Regions from separate parts of the Homo sapiens genome. Here region 2 is linked to region 1. The links are contacts of gene promoters, found by promoter capture Hi-C in human tissues and cell types (Jung and others, 2019). All regions are on one chromosome and are shown on one strand. The core of a region is centred on a gene start or on the middle of the fragment in contact, and the rest is flanking DNA. Distances in the headings are between cores, read along the strand shown. Region 1 holds the start of RTN1 (reticulon 1). Region 2 overlaps L3HYPDH (trans-L-3-hydroxyproline dehydratase).

Evidence for each region. Contacts are between HindIII fragments. The study calls those that stand out against the background at their distance.
Region 2: a fragment that was not itself captured here is called in contact with the fragment with the promoter of RTN1 in region 1 in 1 of the 25 tissues and cell types used here (hippocampus).

What each region holds. Positions count from the first base shown.
Region 1 is chr14:59,868,383-59,873,685 of GRCh38, reverse strand. RTN1 (reticulon 1) reads left to right here and starts at 2,910. Exons shown (of 9, transcript NM_021136.3): 1 at 2,910-3,296. The coding sequence starts at 3,056. RefSeq lists a silencer at 2,902-3,001. The HindIII fragment of the contact is 4,177 bases long and covers 1,744-5,303 here.
Region 2 is chr14:59,475,481-59,480,666 of GRCh38, reverse strand. L3HYPDH (trans-L-3-hydroxyproline dehydratase) reads left to right here. Exons shown (of 5, transcript NM_144581.2): 2 at 1,316-1,485; 3 at 4,453-4,575; 4 at 4,661-4,798. Among named protein-coding and RNA genes, the nearest start is that of L3HYPDH, 6.3 kb to the left of the region's middle. The HindIII fragment of the contact is 4,181 bases long and covers 1,084-5,186 here.

The DNA of each region.
Region 1 (5,303 bases), core at 1,661-4,160:
TATTTCAAAACAACAAAAAGATTATAATCGGATTGTTTGTAACACAAAGAAAGGATAAAAGCTTGAGGTGATGGATACCTTATTTACCATGATATGATTATTATTCATTGTATGCCTGTATTAAAATATCTCATATACCCCATAAATATATACACCTACTATGTACCCACCCACAAAAATTTTAAAAAAAATCTCCAGGTTACAGTTGAGGAACCTGGGTTGTAGAGATGTTAGGTAACTTTAATATTGAGGCTGGAAAGAATTTCATCTTGGTTAAAGCTTGTTACTTGTGGCGCTCTTCCTGCATGTCCCCACACCGTGTTTCCCCATGATATATGGTTTGGACTAAGTTAAGAAGCTAGTGCTAAATAAATGCTCCTCATTTCTTCTTTTCAAATGATGAACAAAACTTCTTTTCCAAAAAACAAAAGCTGAAAACAAAACGTGACAGTTCTTTTGTCTCAACTCTTCTTGCTAAGAACCTTTTAAAAGTGACAATCCTATTTTCTCTGTGTCTGAAAAGCATTTTAGAGTAATTCGTAACTTAGAGCAACTATGTAAGCCCCAGAATCCCATTGCCGACTGTGTGTTTTGCCCATAAATCTTCAAATTAGTCAAGCTTTGTCAGTTCAGAGCGGTGCAAAATAAATAATATTAATAAACATGAATCATTTCAAGTCATAGCATAAACCTGAAAATTTCTTCCCCCAAATAGATAATTTTTATACATCCAAAGGTGGAGTCTAATAAGGAAAGTTAGTAATGAAAATTGCTAACACTGAAATCTTGTGCTCATCTCTTTTCAGCAGTGTAAAATAGAATACTTTATCAAAATGGAACTGTCAATAATGTTCAATTTCCTTTAACAACTACACTCTAAATAGATTTAACTGGCTATTTCCTTCACACATTCTCAATGAGAGTATTGATTAGTATGAAAGAAATTGACAAATAATTAGAATCATATCCCCAAACTTCCTATCTATTAATCATAAGGAAACACAGAGGCTTGCTTAGGTCTCCCAGTTTTTTAATGATGACTTTCATTCATGTTTCTCAGAGAAACAAAAGAATATACTTCATATTATTTTGTATGTAACTCCTTTGCATAGCAATTCTCAAATATTAGTATTCATCAATAACCACTTTAAGGTTATATCATTAGAATTGTCTATGTTCTTGTCTTGTTATCAGTAATAAAACCATGAGAAATTCCCATCTAGTATTTCTGATGCTTTAGGGAATACTAAGTAATAGATTTGAAAAAACTTACAAGTGCCCTCTAATTACAAGACAGGATTAAGCTCCATGGAAATACAGCAGTGGAATAAGCTTTTCAACTTAACGGTTTTTTAAATACACTCTTGTTTTCCCATGGAAAGATGTTTAAAAATCATTATGATTCATGATAACCAATTATTTTGTTGTTTTTGGATGAGATTATTTTTATAGATTTATTGAGTTATAACTGACAACACATTAAATTGTTCATATTTACAGTAAACAATAAGTTTTGACATATGTTTGCACCTGTGAAGCTATAACCACAATCTAGATAGTGAATATTTCCATCATGAGACATAATTTTGAGTATGTCAAAAATGTAAAATTTTGGTGACCATCAGATTTCCAGGGATATCTGGCTTCAGGAGGCCATATTTATTGTTTAGTGAATGATTTTTCTCTAATTTATTGTCATCTTTTGAACATTAGTGCACTAGCAGAACAAAAGATTAGGCAGACTCTGGGCTTTTTCATTTTAGCATTATTGAGGAGCACCTGAATGGTCCTGAAGTTGGCCTTTGAATATACCAATGGACAGGTATGAAATCCTCAAGATGCGCATGGTGGCCAAGAGTCCCACAGTCTCACAGTGTGTGCGGTACCGTCTGCGCCCACCTTTCCTAGAGAAGAAACAGCAGAAAAACCTATTCCTTCACCCTGTGTGTTGTGGTGAATCTTAGTTTTTAAAGGCACATTATTTTATTATATAAACAACTTGGGAACCAATAAAACACAAGACATTTGAAAAGATGGGTCTTCGTATGGGCACAACATATGATAAGGCAAGTCACTTTCCTCCTCTGAGTTTGGGTTTATTTGCTGACTATCTTCCATTTTATCACAGTGAACTGTAAAGAAAAAGATGCAAGCTTCATGGAATGTCCAAATTCTGAAATACAACGGACTGCACAGACAGCTTATGATTAGGATGGCCTTGGCTCAGTGTTTCTGAAAGCAAATGTACAGCTTTTGTCCTTGCCTATTGACACCCTGTTTGCCCTCAGGGCTGGTCAGGGTGAGATCTGTTAAGCTTTTTTTGGAGGCTGTCCTGATAACTCATTTCTTTACTCCACTATTTTCAGGCCCATTCTGGAAACGCAGGATTTAACCGCGGGGTTGCAGCTTCCCTGGTCTCCATCTGCCATCAGAACCCATCTCCACCCCTTCCCCGTTCAGACCTGTGTCCCCTCCACAACTCATACTGGTCACTCTCAGAACTGTGGCCCTGAGTTCTCTAGCTTTCCCTCTTTGCCTCGGGACCCAGGACACCAGTCGGGGCTTAACTTTCTCAGTTGGGAAGGCGACGCTGCTGGTGGCTGCTGCTACTTGCTGGTTCTTCCTTTTTTTTCCTCCCCAAACGAGAGGAAGATTCGAGTGGATTTGGCACATCCCCTAACCGGGGCCTGCCATTTGCAGGTTGGGGGCTGACGTGCCCAGGAGGACCCGGACCAAGCAGGCCATTTTCACCTGCGTAATAACAGGATTGGGAATAGCGAAGCAGCGGCGGCAGCAGCGAGTGGAGTAGGAGGAGGAGCGCAGGCAGCGGCCGCGGCGGGGCCGGAGGAAGAGGAGGGGGGAGAAGGAGGAGCTGAAGCGGGAAGAGCGGCAGGCAGCGGCTCGGCGGAGTTGCAGCAGAGGCGGCGGCGACGCTGAGACACCGCAGCTTCCCTGAGCGCCGAGTCCCTCCGGGGACAGCAGCAGGGAGCGCCCGCGCAGCCACCGAGCCTCTGCCCAGCCAAGCCGCCGTCGCCGCGCCGGGGGACCGCCAGCCATGGCCGCGCCGGGGGATCCGCAGGACGAGCTGCTGCCGCTGGCCGGCCCCGGGTCCCAGTGGCTCAGGCACCGGGGGGAGGGGGAGAACGAAGCGGTGACGCCGAAAGGGGCCACGCCGGCGCCGCAGGCTGGGGAGCCCAGCCCGGGGTTGGGCGCCAGGGCCCGGGAAGCGGCGTCGCGGGAAGCCGGCTCGGGCCCCGCCCGGCAGTCGCCCGTTGCCATGGAAACTGCATCCACAGGTAAGGCGGGCGCCGCTGCCCCTCAAATGGCGTCGGGGACCAGGGCCCCCCAGTCAGTCCCCTTCTGCGCGGCTCTCCTGGGCACCTGCCTCGCGCTTTCTGCCTTGAGCGCCGACCCCACCCCCGCGTCGCCACGGGCGACTGGGAATATTCGCGGGCTGGTAGAAAACAACAATTTTATTTTTCCCAAAGGCTCAGAAAAAGTCAAGATGCTTTTGATCCTTTTATTTCATTATCATGATTATTTCCGCTTTAAAAATTGTTCTCATAGGCAAACAGCAGCATTCTGGCTGCTGGCGAGTCTGGGTACAAGTTTCTCCCTCCTGCCAGGAGGCTCCGAGCTGTAGGGCCCGTTTGACAGGTTGTGGGGATTTTGGGGGGCGTGTTTGCGCGCAGTGTGCGCGCCGGCTACAGGAGATGCTGACAACCGAGCGGCGGGCAGGCCCGCGGCCCCTGGACCCGGCTCTGTCCAGGGCAGAGATGTGGCTGTAACTGCCCCTTACCCTTGCCCTCCACGAATCGCCACCACACCTTACTCCCCCCACATCCCTCCGCCTTTTCTCCCGCAGAAAACAAATCCCAGGGAGTTTGTCCCTAATTCGGGAGGCACAGCTTTGCAAGAGGGTTGGGTGCTGTGGCTGCCCCCGCCCAAAACCTGTATTTCGCCGCTGCCCGGATGGCCCCACCTTGCAGGGAGCATTGAAACTTCAAGTCCTAAGTGCGGCGGGCCTGGCTGTGGGTTGGAGGGCTTGGGTGGTGGTGAGTGGACGTGGTACAGTTTACCAGCAGTCTAAGCGCCCCCCCCCCCCCACCCCGGAAATTGCCCTGGGTTTGGCCATTCTTCGCCTGACGCCCTATTCAAAGTCTGAGCGCGCCAGTGTCCAGCGGGAGCCCAGGCCCCTGGCGCATCCTGGTCAAAGGATCCAGGAAGCGCGCTTTGAGGCTGCCGGCCTGGTTAACGCTGTTTCCAGGGAGAGGAAAGGGGATGCTGTGTGGTGCTCTTTCCTGAGAAAGCTTTGCTATGGTGGAGTGGGAGTTGTGTAGTTTTGGCAATGTAGAGCTAGAAGGCCTGGGGTGGGGGGTGCTCCCAGAGGAGGGGAAGGGGAGTGGGACTGGTGTGTGTGCTCTTGGTGGTTGATTTAAAGAAACCCCTTTTCGTAAGCTTCTCTTAAGGGTTATGTGGAATGTCTAAGGTAATCGTAATTAACTGCCCTGGTACAGAAGATCTGAGCTGGGGAAAAGAGGTTTGGAGAATGCGTTGAATAAAAATTGTCAATATCCTGAAAGGAAGAGAAAAAGTGGAGACCCTATATAAGAAAAAAGAAAAAGAAAGAAAGAAAAGTACTCAAAAGCCCCAACGCCAAACGCCAAAGGTTATATATTAATTATTATATCCCTAGGAGTGGGGGAGGATTTAAATCTAAGAATGGCTGCTCAGTCTCTCTTTCAACTTCTGCATCCAAGTGAAAACAAAACTCTTTATAATTGCAAAAGAAGATGGCAAATGATAATAGACAAAGGAAGGTAGTTTTTGTCTTTACCATTCTTTGTTGAGGATAGACTGCTCATAGTTCAGAATCTTTATCCACTGTAATCAAAGTAAATTGTTTCTTTATGAAACATTACCCACCTCCTATTAGTGCCACTAAGATTATGTGAACTAGAAAAAGGAAGCTAAGTGCCCCATGCTCAGTAACATATCCACAAAAGTTATTATATAGGAAATGCTTAGAATATATATTTGTGGGGTACAGTGTGATGTTTTGACATATGTCTGCATTGTCAAATGATTAGCTAACAAATCCATCATCTCATGTACTTTTTTTTTGTGGTAAAAGCGTTTAAAATTTACTCTTTTAGCAATTTCAAAATGTACAGTGCATTGTTACAGAAAGGTGGCTGTAGTAAATAACAATGCATTTTGCATTTTTAGTATTATTATTATAGAAATACCTTGCTTTATTGAATGTGTTTGGGGTTTTCTATCCTAGGCAACAAATATAGTAA
Region 2 (5,186 bases), core at 1,925-4,424, 390 kb after region 1:
AGCCTTCTGTGGACTGATAGCATACTGATATCTTTGTATGACCTTGTATGAAAACTCAGGAACACAAGATATATTTTCTTTCCCAAAACTTAATTTCTGAAGCTGAAACTCTACTCTGTCCTTTTGGTTCACTTAGCCTCATCACTCCATGTGTTGTCCCCTTTCCTGATATGTGTGAGCAAAGGTTTCTTAAAAGTGCTGTGGCCTTGGAGAGGATGGCACTTCAGTCCTCAGCTTACACAGTTAACCAGCAAAGTGGAGCAGGAGCATTGGCTGCCCCACCCTACCTGGTCCTTGCCCTCTGCACTGCCTCCCCATCCTCTGTTTCTTCACTCCTGCTCCTGTGGTGCCCTGGGGGAAGTTAACACACGTCCTCTCTGCACTAAGGACCTTCAGCCTCCACTCTTCTCAAGGGAGAAAAAATTTATCTCTAGGAGAAATATTTCTCCCTTCAGGACACTCCTTTGCCAACAGATGTCTTTCCCCTGAGAGCTTAGGCTTCCCTAAAATAAAAACATGAAAGACAAGCTTTCTCCCCTGCCATAGGCTTCCCTAAAAGGCAGTGATCACCAAGCTAGCTTAAATTAGGGAAGAGGAAAATTTGAGAAGGGGCGAAATAAACATCACCCAGCCCCCTTTCTTTGGAAATACAGATTCAAGATTTCAAACTACTGACCTTCAGGTGAAACTTTGGGGATGTTGAGACTTAAAATGCTCAAATAAAAACCCTGGTGCAAAATGATGCTGTAGCAGTCAATGATTCTACAATGGCATTTTTCTGTGTTTGCCTGCAGGATACCTTAAGGAGATGAAAACATGTAGATAAGTGTATATAATTTATATAGAAAAATCTTTTATTAAAATTTATGTTTTGACATTACGGCTGAAGAAAATTGATTTGTAAATAGGATCCAAGACCCTCACTATTTTAAACCATCTCTCATAGTACAAGTGGGGAATAGACATTTTCCTTCTTAGTGTTCACAGGGATGCCCTTGGGTTTCCCTCTCTCGGCCTCAGGGGTGTTTCCTAGAAAAGATCCTCAGGGAAGTTAATGAATATGTCTGTATGAGTTAGGGAAAGCATGGCTTTAGTTTATAACTTCTGCAATCATCAAGTTAAAAATAGAATGATGCATCTAGCTATTATTCACTCGATGCTTATTCATTTAAAAAACGGATTTTTACTTCATTATTTTTATGATAGGAAAAGAACATCCCTCTTGAAAAATAAACATATTAAAAATCCTTTGAATTTTATTGCTAAAATACTTATTAACAAACACATCTTCTTTCCAAACACATCTTTTTTTTAGATCTCATGGTGGATGTTCCTGGACATGGAAAGGTGATGGTGGACATTGCATATGGCGGTGCATTTTATGCATTTGTTACTGCTGAAAAGTTAGGACTAGACATTTGTTCTGCAAAGACCAGGGACCTTGTGGATGCAGCGAGTGCAGTGACAGAGGCAGTGAAAGCTCAGGTCAGTAATACTCTGCCTTCATAACCAATTCCCTTCTCTGTGGCATGGAGGAAATATACATTATTATGTCTATAAAGAAAATTAAATGATGTTTAAATTATTAATAGTACTAAGAATAGGGTACTTATTAAAATCTTAGGCTCTAGAGCAAGCTTGTCCCACCCGTGGCCTGTGAGCCACATGCAGCCCAGGATGGCTTTGAATGTGGCCCAACACAAATTTTGTAAACTTTCTTAAAACATTATGAGTTTTTTTGCAATTTTTTTTTAGCTCATCAGCTCTCGTTAGTGTTAGTGTATCTTATGTGTGGCCCAAGACAATTCTTCTCCCAGTGTGGCCCAGAGAAGCCAAAAGATTGGACATTCCTGCTCTAGAGCAAAACTATCTATGAGTTCTAGCTTTACCACTGGTAACGTATATAACCTTGGGCAAGTTACGTAACCTCCATATGCCTCAGTTTTCCTGTCTGCAAAATGGAAATTAAAAAATACCTGCTTTGTAGGGTTGTGAGAATGAAATAAGTCAATACATGTAAAGGACTTAGAGTAGTGTCTGGCCAATAGTAAATGTTCAGTAAATGATAATATTATTTTTTTTGAGACAGGGTCTTGCTCTGTCACCCAGGCTGTAGTGCAGTGGTGTGATCATAGCTTACTGTAACTTCAAATTCCCAGGCTCAAAATGATGCTTCTGCCTCAGCCTCCAGAGTAACTGGGACCACAGGCATGCCCCATCACACCCAGCTAAATCTGTGTTTGTGTGAGTGTGTGTGTGTGTTTATATAGAGACAGGATGTCACTATGTTGCCCAGGATGGCCTCAAACTCCTGGCCTCAAGTGATTCTCCCAGCTCGGCCTCCCAAAGTGTTGGGATTACAGGTGTGAGCCACCACACCTAGCAGTTACTAAATTTAATAATACATACATACTAATATAGTTTATAGTTCCTTAAATGTGTAGAAATATATTTATAGAATTCTGCAAATTTTAAATGCATGTGTGTGGTCATTCTGTTAAACTTGAAAATAATAAATGTAAAATATAGTGTACAGAATAGATTTAAGCCTTTTTCTTATTTCATAGAGAACATTAATTCCTATTATTTTTTTCCTACATTGCTAAGAAGTTACTCAAATAACTACTTAAATAACTCTAGTTTTTACTTGGGAAAGCTAATTTGATAAAATCAGTTTAGATAATAATTCTAGGATATTCTTTCACTTCTAGCACGAGTGAAGCACATTTTACCTTGAAATTGGGACCTATAAATAAAACACATGTACAGTATTTGAATGTTTAGTACGTGAGAATTTAGTATGTGAGAATTTATTAGTAGTAAAAAGTAACTTGTGTAAGATAGTGTCTAATGTACGAATAATTATCATTTTCTGAAGCTTTATTTTAAAATAATTTATAACTTAAAATGAGAATATACACTGTATCAGTATTCTAAATTATTTTTCTGGTACTGCCAGTACCAATATGTGCAATTATATTATGATAGCAACTTTTGAAGCTCTGAATTTACATCAGTTTTCTGTTCCATTAAGCAGGACAGCTAATAGTCTGAGTTAACAATTTGGCACAAAATAATTTCTCCTAATTTTTCATGAATTCAAGAGAAAAAGTCATGGATATCTTAATAAAAGGTGTAATTTTGTACTTCTCATTTGAGTTTGAACTCAACAAGATGGCAAGGGGTGGACTTTGAGGGAGGAAGGATTCTGAGAAAAATGAGGACAAGTTCTGTTATTGATGTATCAGACAGTACAATTAATTACTCTGTGAACTGTTGACTATTCACACTGCTGAAGCAGATTTAGGAAAAGGCCATGGGGATGGAGAGTTAAAGTTAATATAAATTCATCTTAATTCATTCACTCTTTTAACAAACATTTACCACAAACATACTGTATATATGTTAGACATTCTGCTAGATCCTGGAGACTCGAAGAAAGAACAAACCCCACCTTTGAGGAGCTAGCTCCAGTTGGGGAAGCGAGCATACCTGTGAACAGTGTTATGTTGGAATGTGCTATAGTGGAGGTGGGGCGTATCACTTTAAGAGGATGGAGAACAAAGATTCAATCTGCAGGCCGCTTTAACTTGGTTTCAGATGGACTCTTTGGATGTTAAGAACCCAAAGCTGTTCCATTGCTTTAAATGACATGTAACTGGAAGTAGAAAGTACTAATTGTAAGCATATACAAGGGAAGTCAGATTATAGCAATCTCAGTCATACTGTAAATGTTTGCAGAAATCCAGGAAAAGTTAAAGAACTAGACTTCCAAGAACAAGTAGCTTTGCATATTTGGGCCTGAATCTACCATTGAGTGACTTAGCTACCCTGCCAGTGCCTGCTTCTTTGTGTGCATATCTGCTGCTTTTTGATGAATCAACTGACTTCATCGTCTACAATAAATCTTTTTTTCCTCCAATTGTTTCTCTTGCCTAATAGTTTCTGCATTCTTACAGAATGTTATATCCTCTCACAGCCTTTGTCTCTATCATTGGTGTTAACTTCAGCTCTAGATACTCAGAGCCTGATTTTCCCACATTATCCTCCTTAAGCTCCTGAGAATAAGACTATGATTGCCTTAGCTCATCCTGTTTGAGCAGCCATCGCCAGCCTGTGGATTGACCATCCTGGGGTCAGTGCTGCAAAGACTATGTGTATTTGGGGTGGGAGGGGTGTATAAAATAGGACTGCTTTTTTAGCAAAGGCTATATGCAGGACAGCTTCCTTAGAAGGGACTCAAAGTATGATAAGAATTATAAATTGCAGTAAAACTATGTTTCTTCATCTAGACAAAGACATAATTTCTAGCAATTAGTATACGTTGCCCAAAAAGGTATTTTAAAAATGATAAGGATTAAAAAGTTATGTCTAAGAATGACCCATCTGCATTATTTATAAATTTGAATCAAAATATTTATTTTGCATGTGATCTTTTTTTGTTACTTGCAGTTTAAAATTAATCATCCTGATAGTGAAGACCTTGCCTTTTTATATGGAACTATATTAACAGATGGAAAAGATGCTTATACCAAGGAACCAACCACCAACATTTGTGTTTTTGCAGATGAACAGGTATTAAAACTGTAATGTTTAGGGACAAAAGCCAGGTAATATGGAACACACTATGAACATTCTGTCTTCATTTATTCTGAAACAGGTTGACAGAAGTCCCACTGGCTCAGGAGTGACAGCCCGAATTGCCTTACAGTATCACAAAGGGCTTCTGGAACTGAACCAGATGAGAGCCTTCAAAAGCAGTGCAACTGGCTCAGTATTCACAGGGAAAGCTGTGAGGGTAAGTGGCACCCTTAGCTTCTTATTTATAAATGTGTCACTCATGAGACTGGAGAGGCCTGAGTTGGGTGTTTGATAAATTTCTTCACTCAGCTCTCAGAAGAGAATTTTAAAGCAGGCCTGTAAAAACTTCTTTTCAACTAGGACATTGGTTATCCAGTGTGGTCTTGGGGCCCCAGCGGGCCCCTAAGGTCCTTTCCATGGGTTCAGAGGGTCAAAACTGTGTTCATAATAATGACATTATTTGCTTTTCACTCTCATTCTCTCAAGAGTGTACAGTGGGGTTCTTCAGAGGCTACGATGTGATATGTGATAACCCAACCAATTGAATGCAGAAGCTAGATATGAGAACCTAGTTGTCTTCTGTTAAGCCAGACATGAAACAGGTT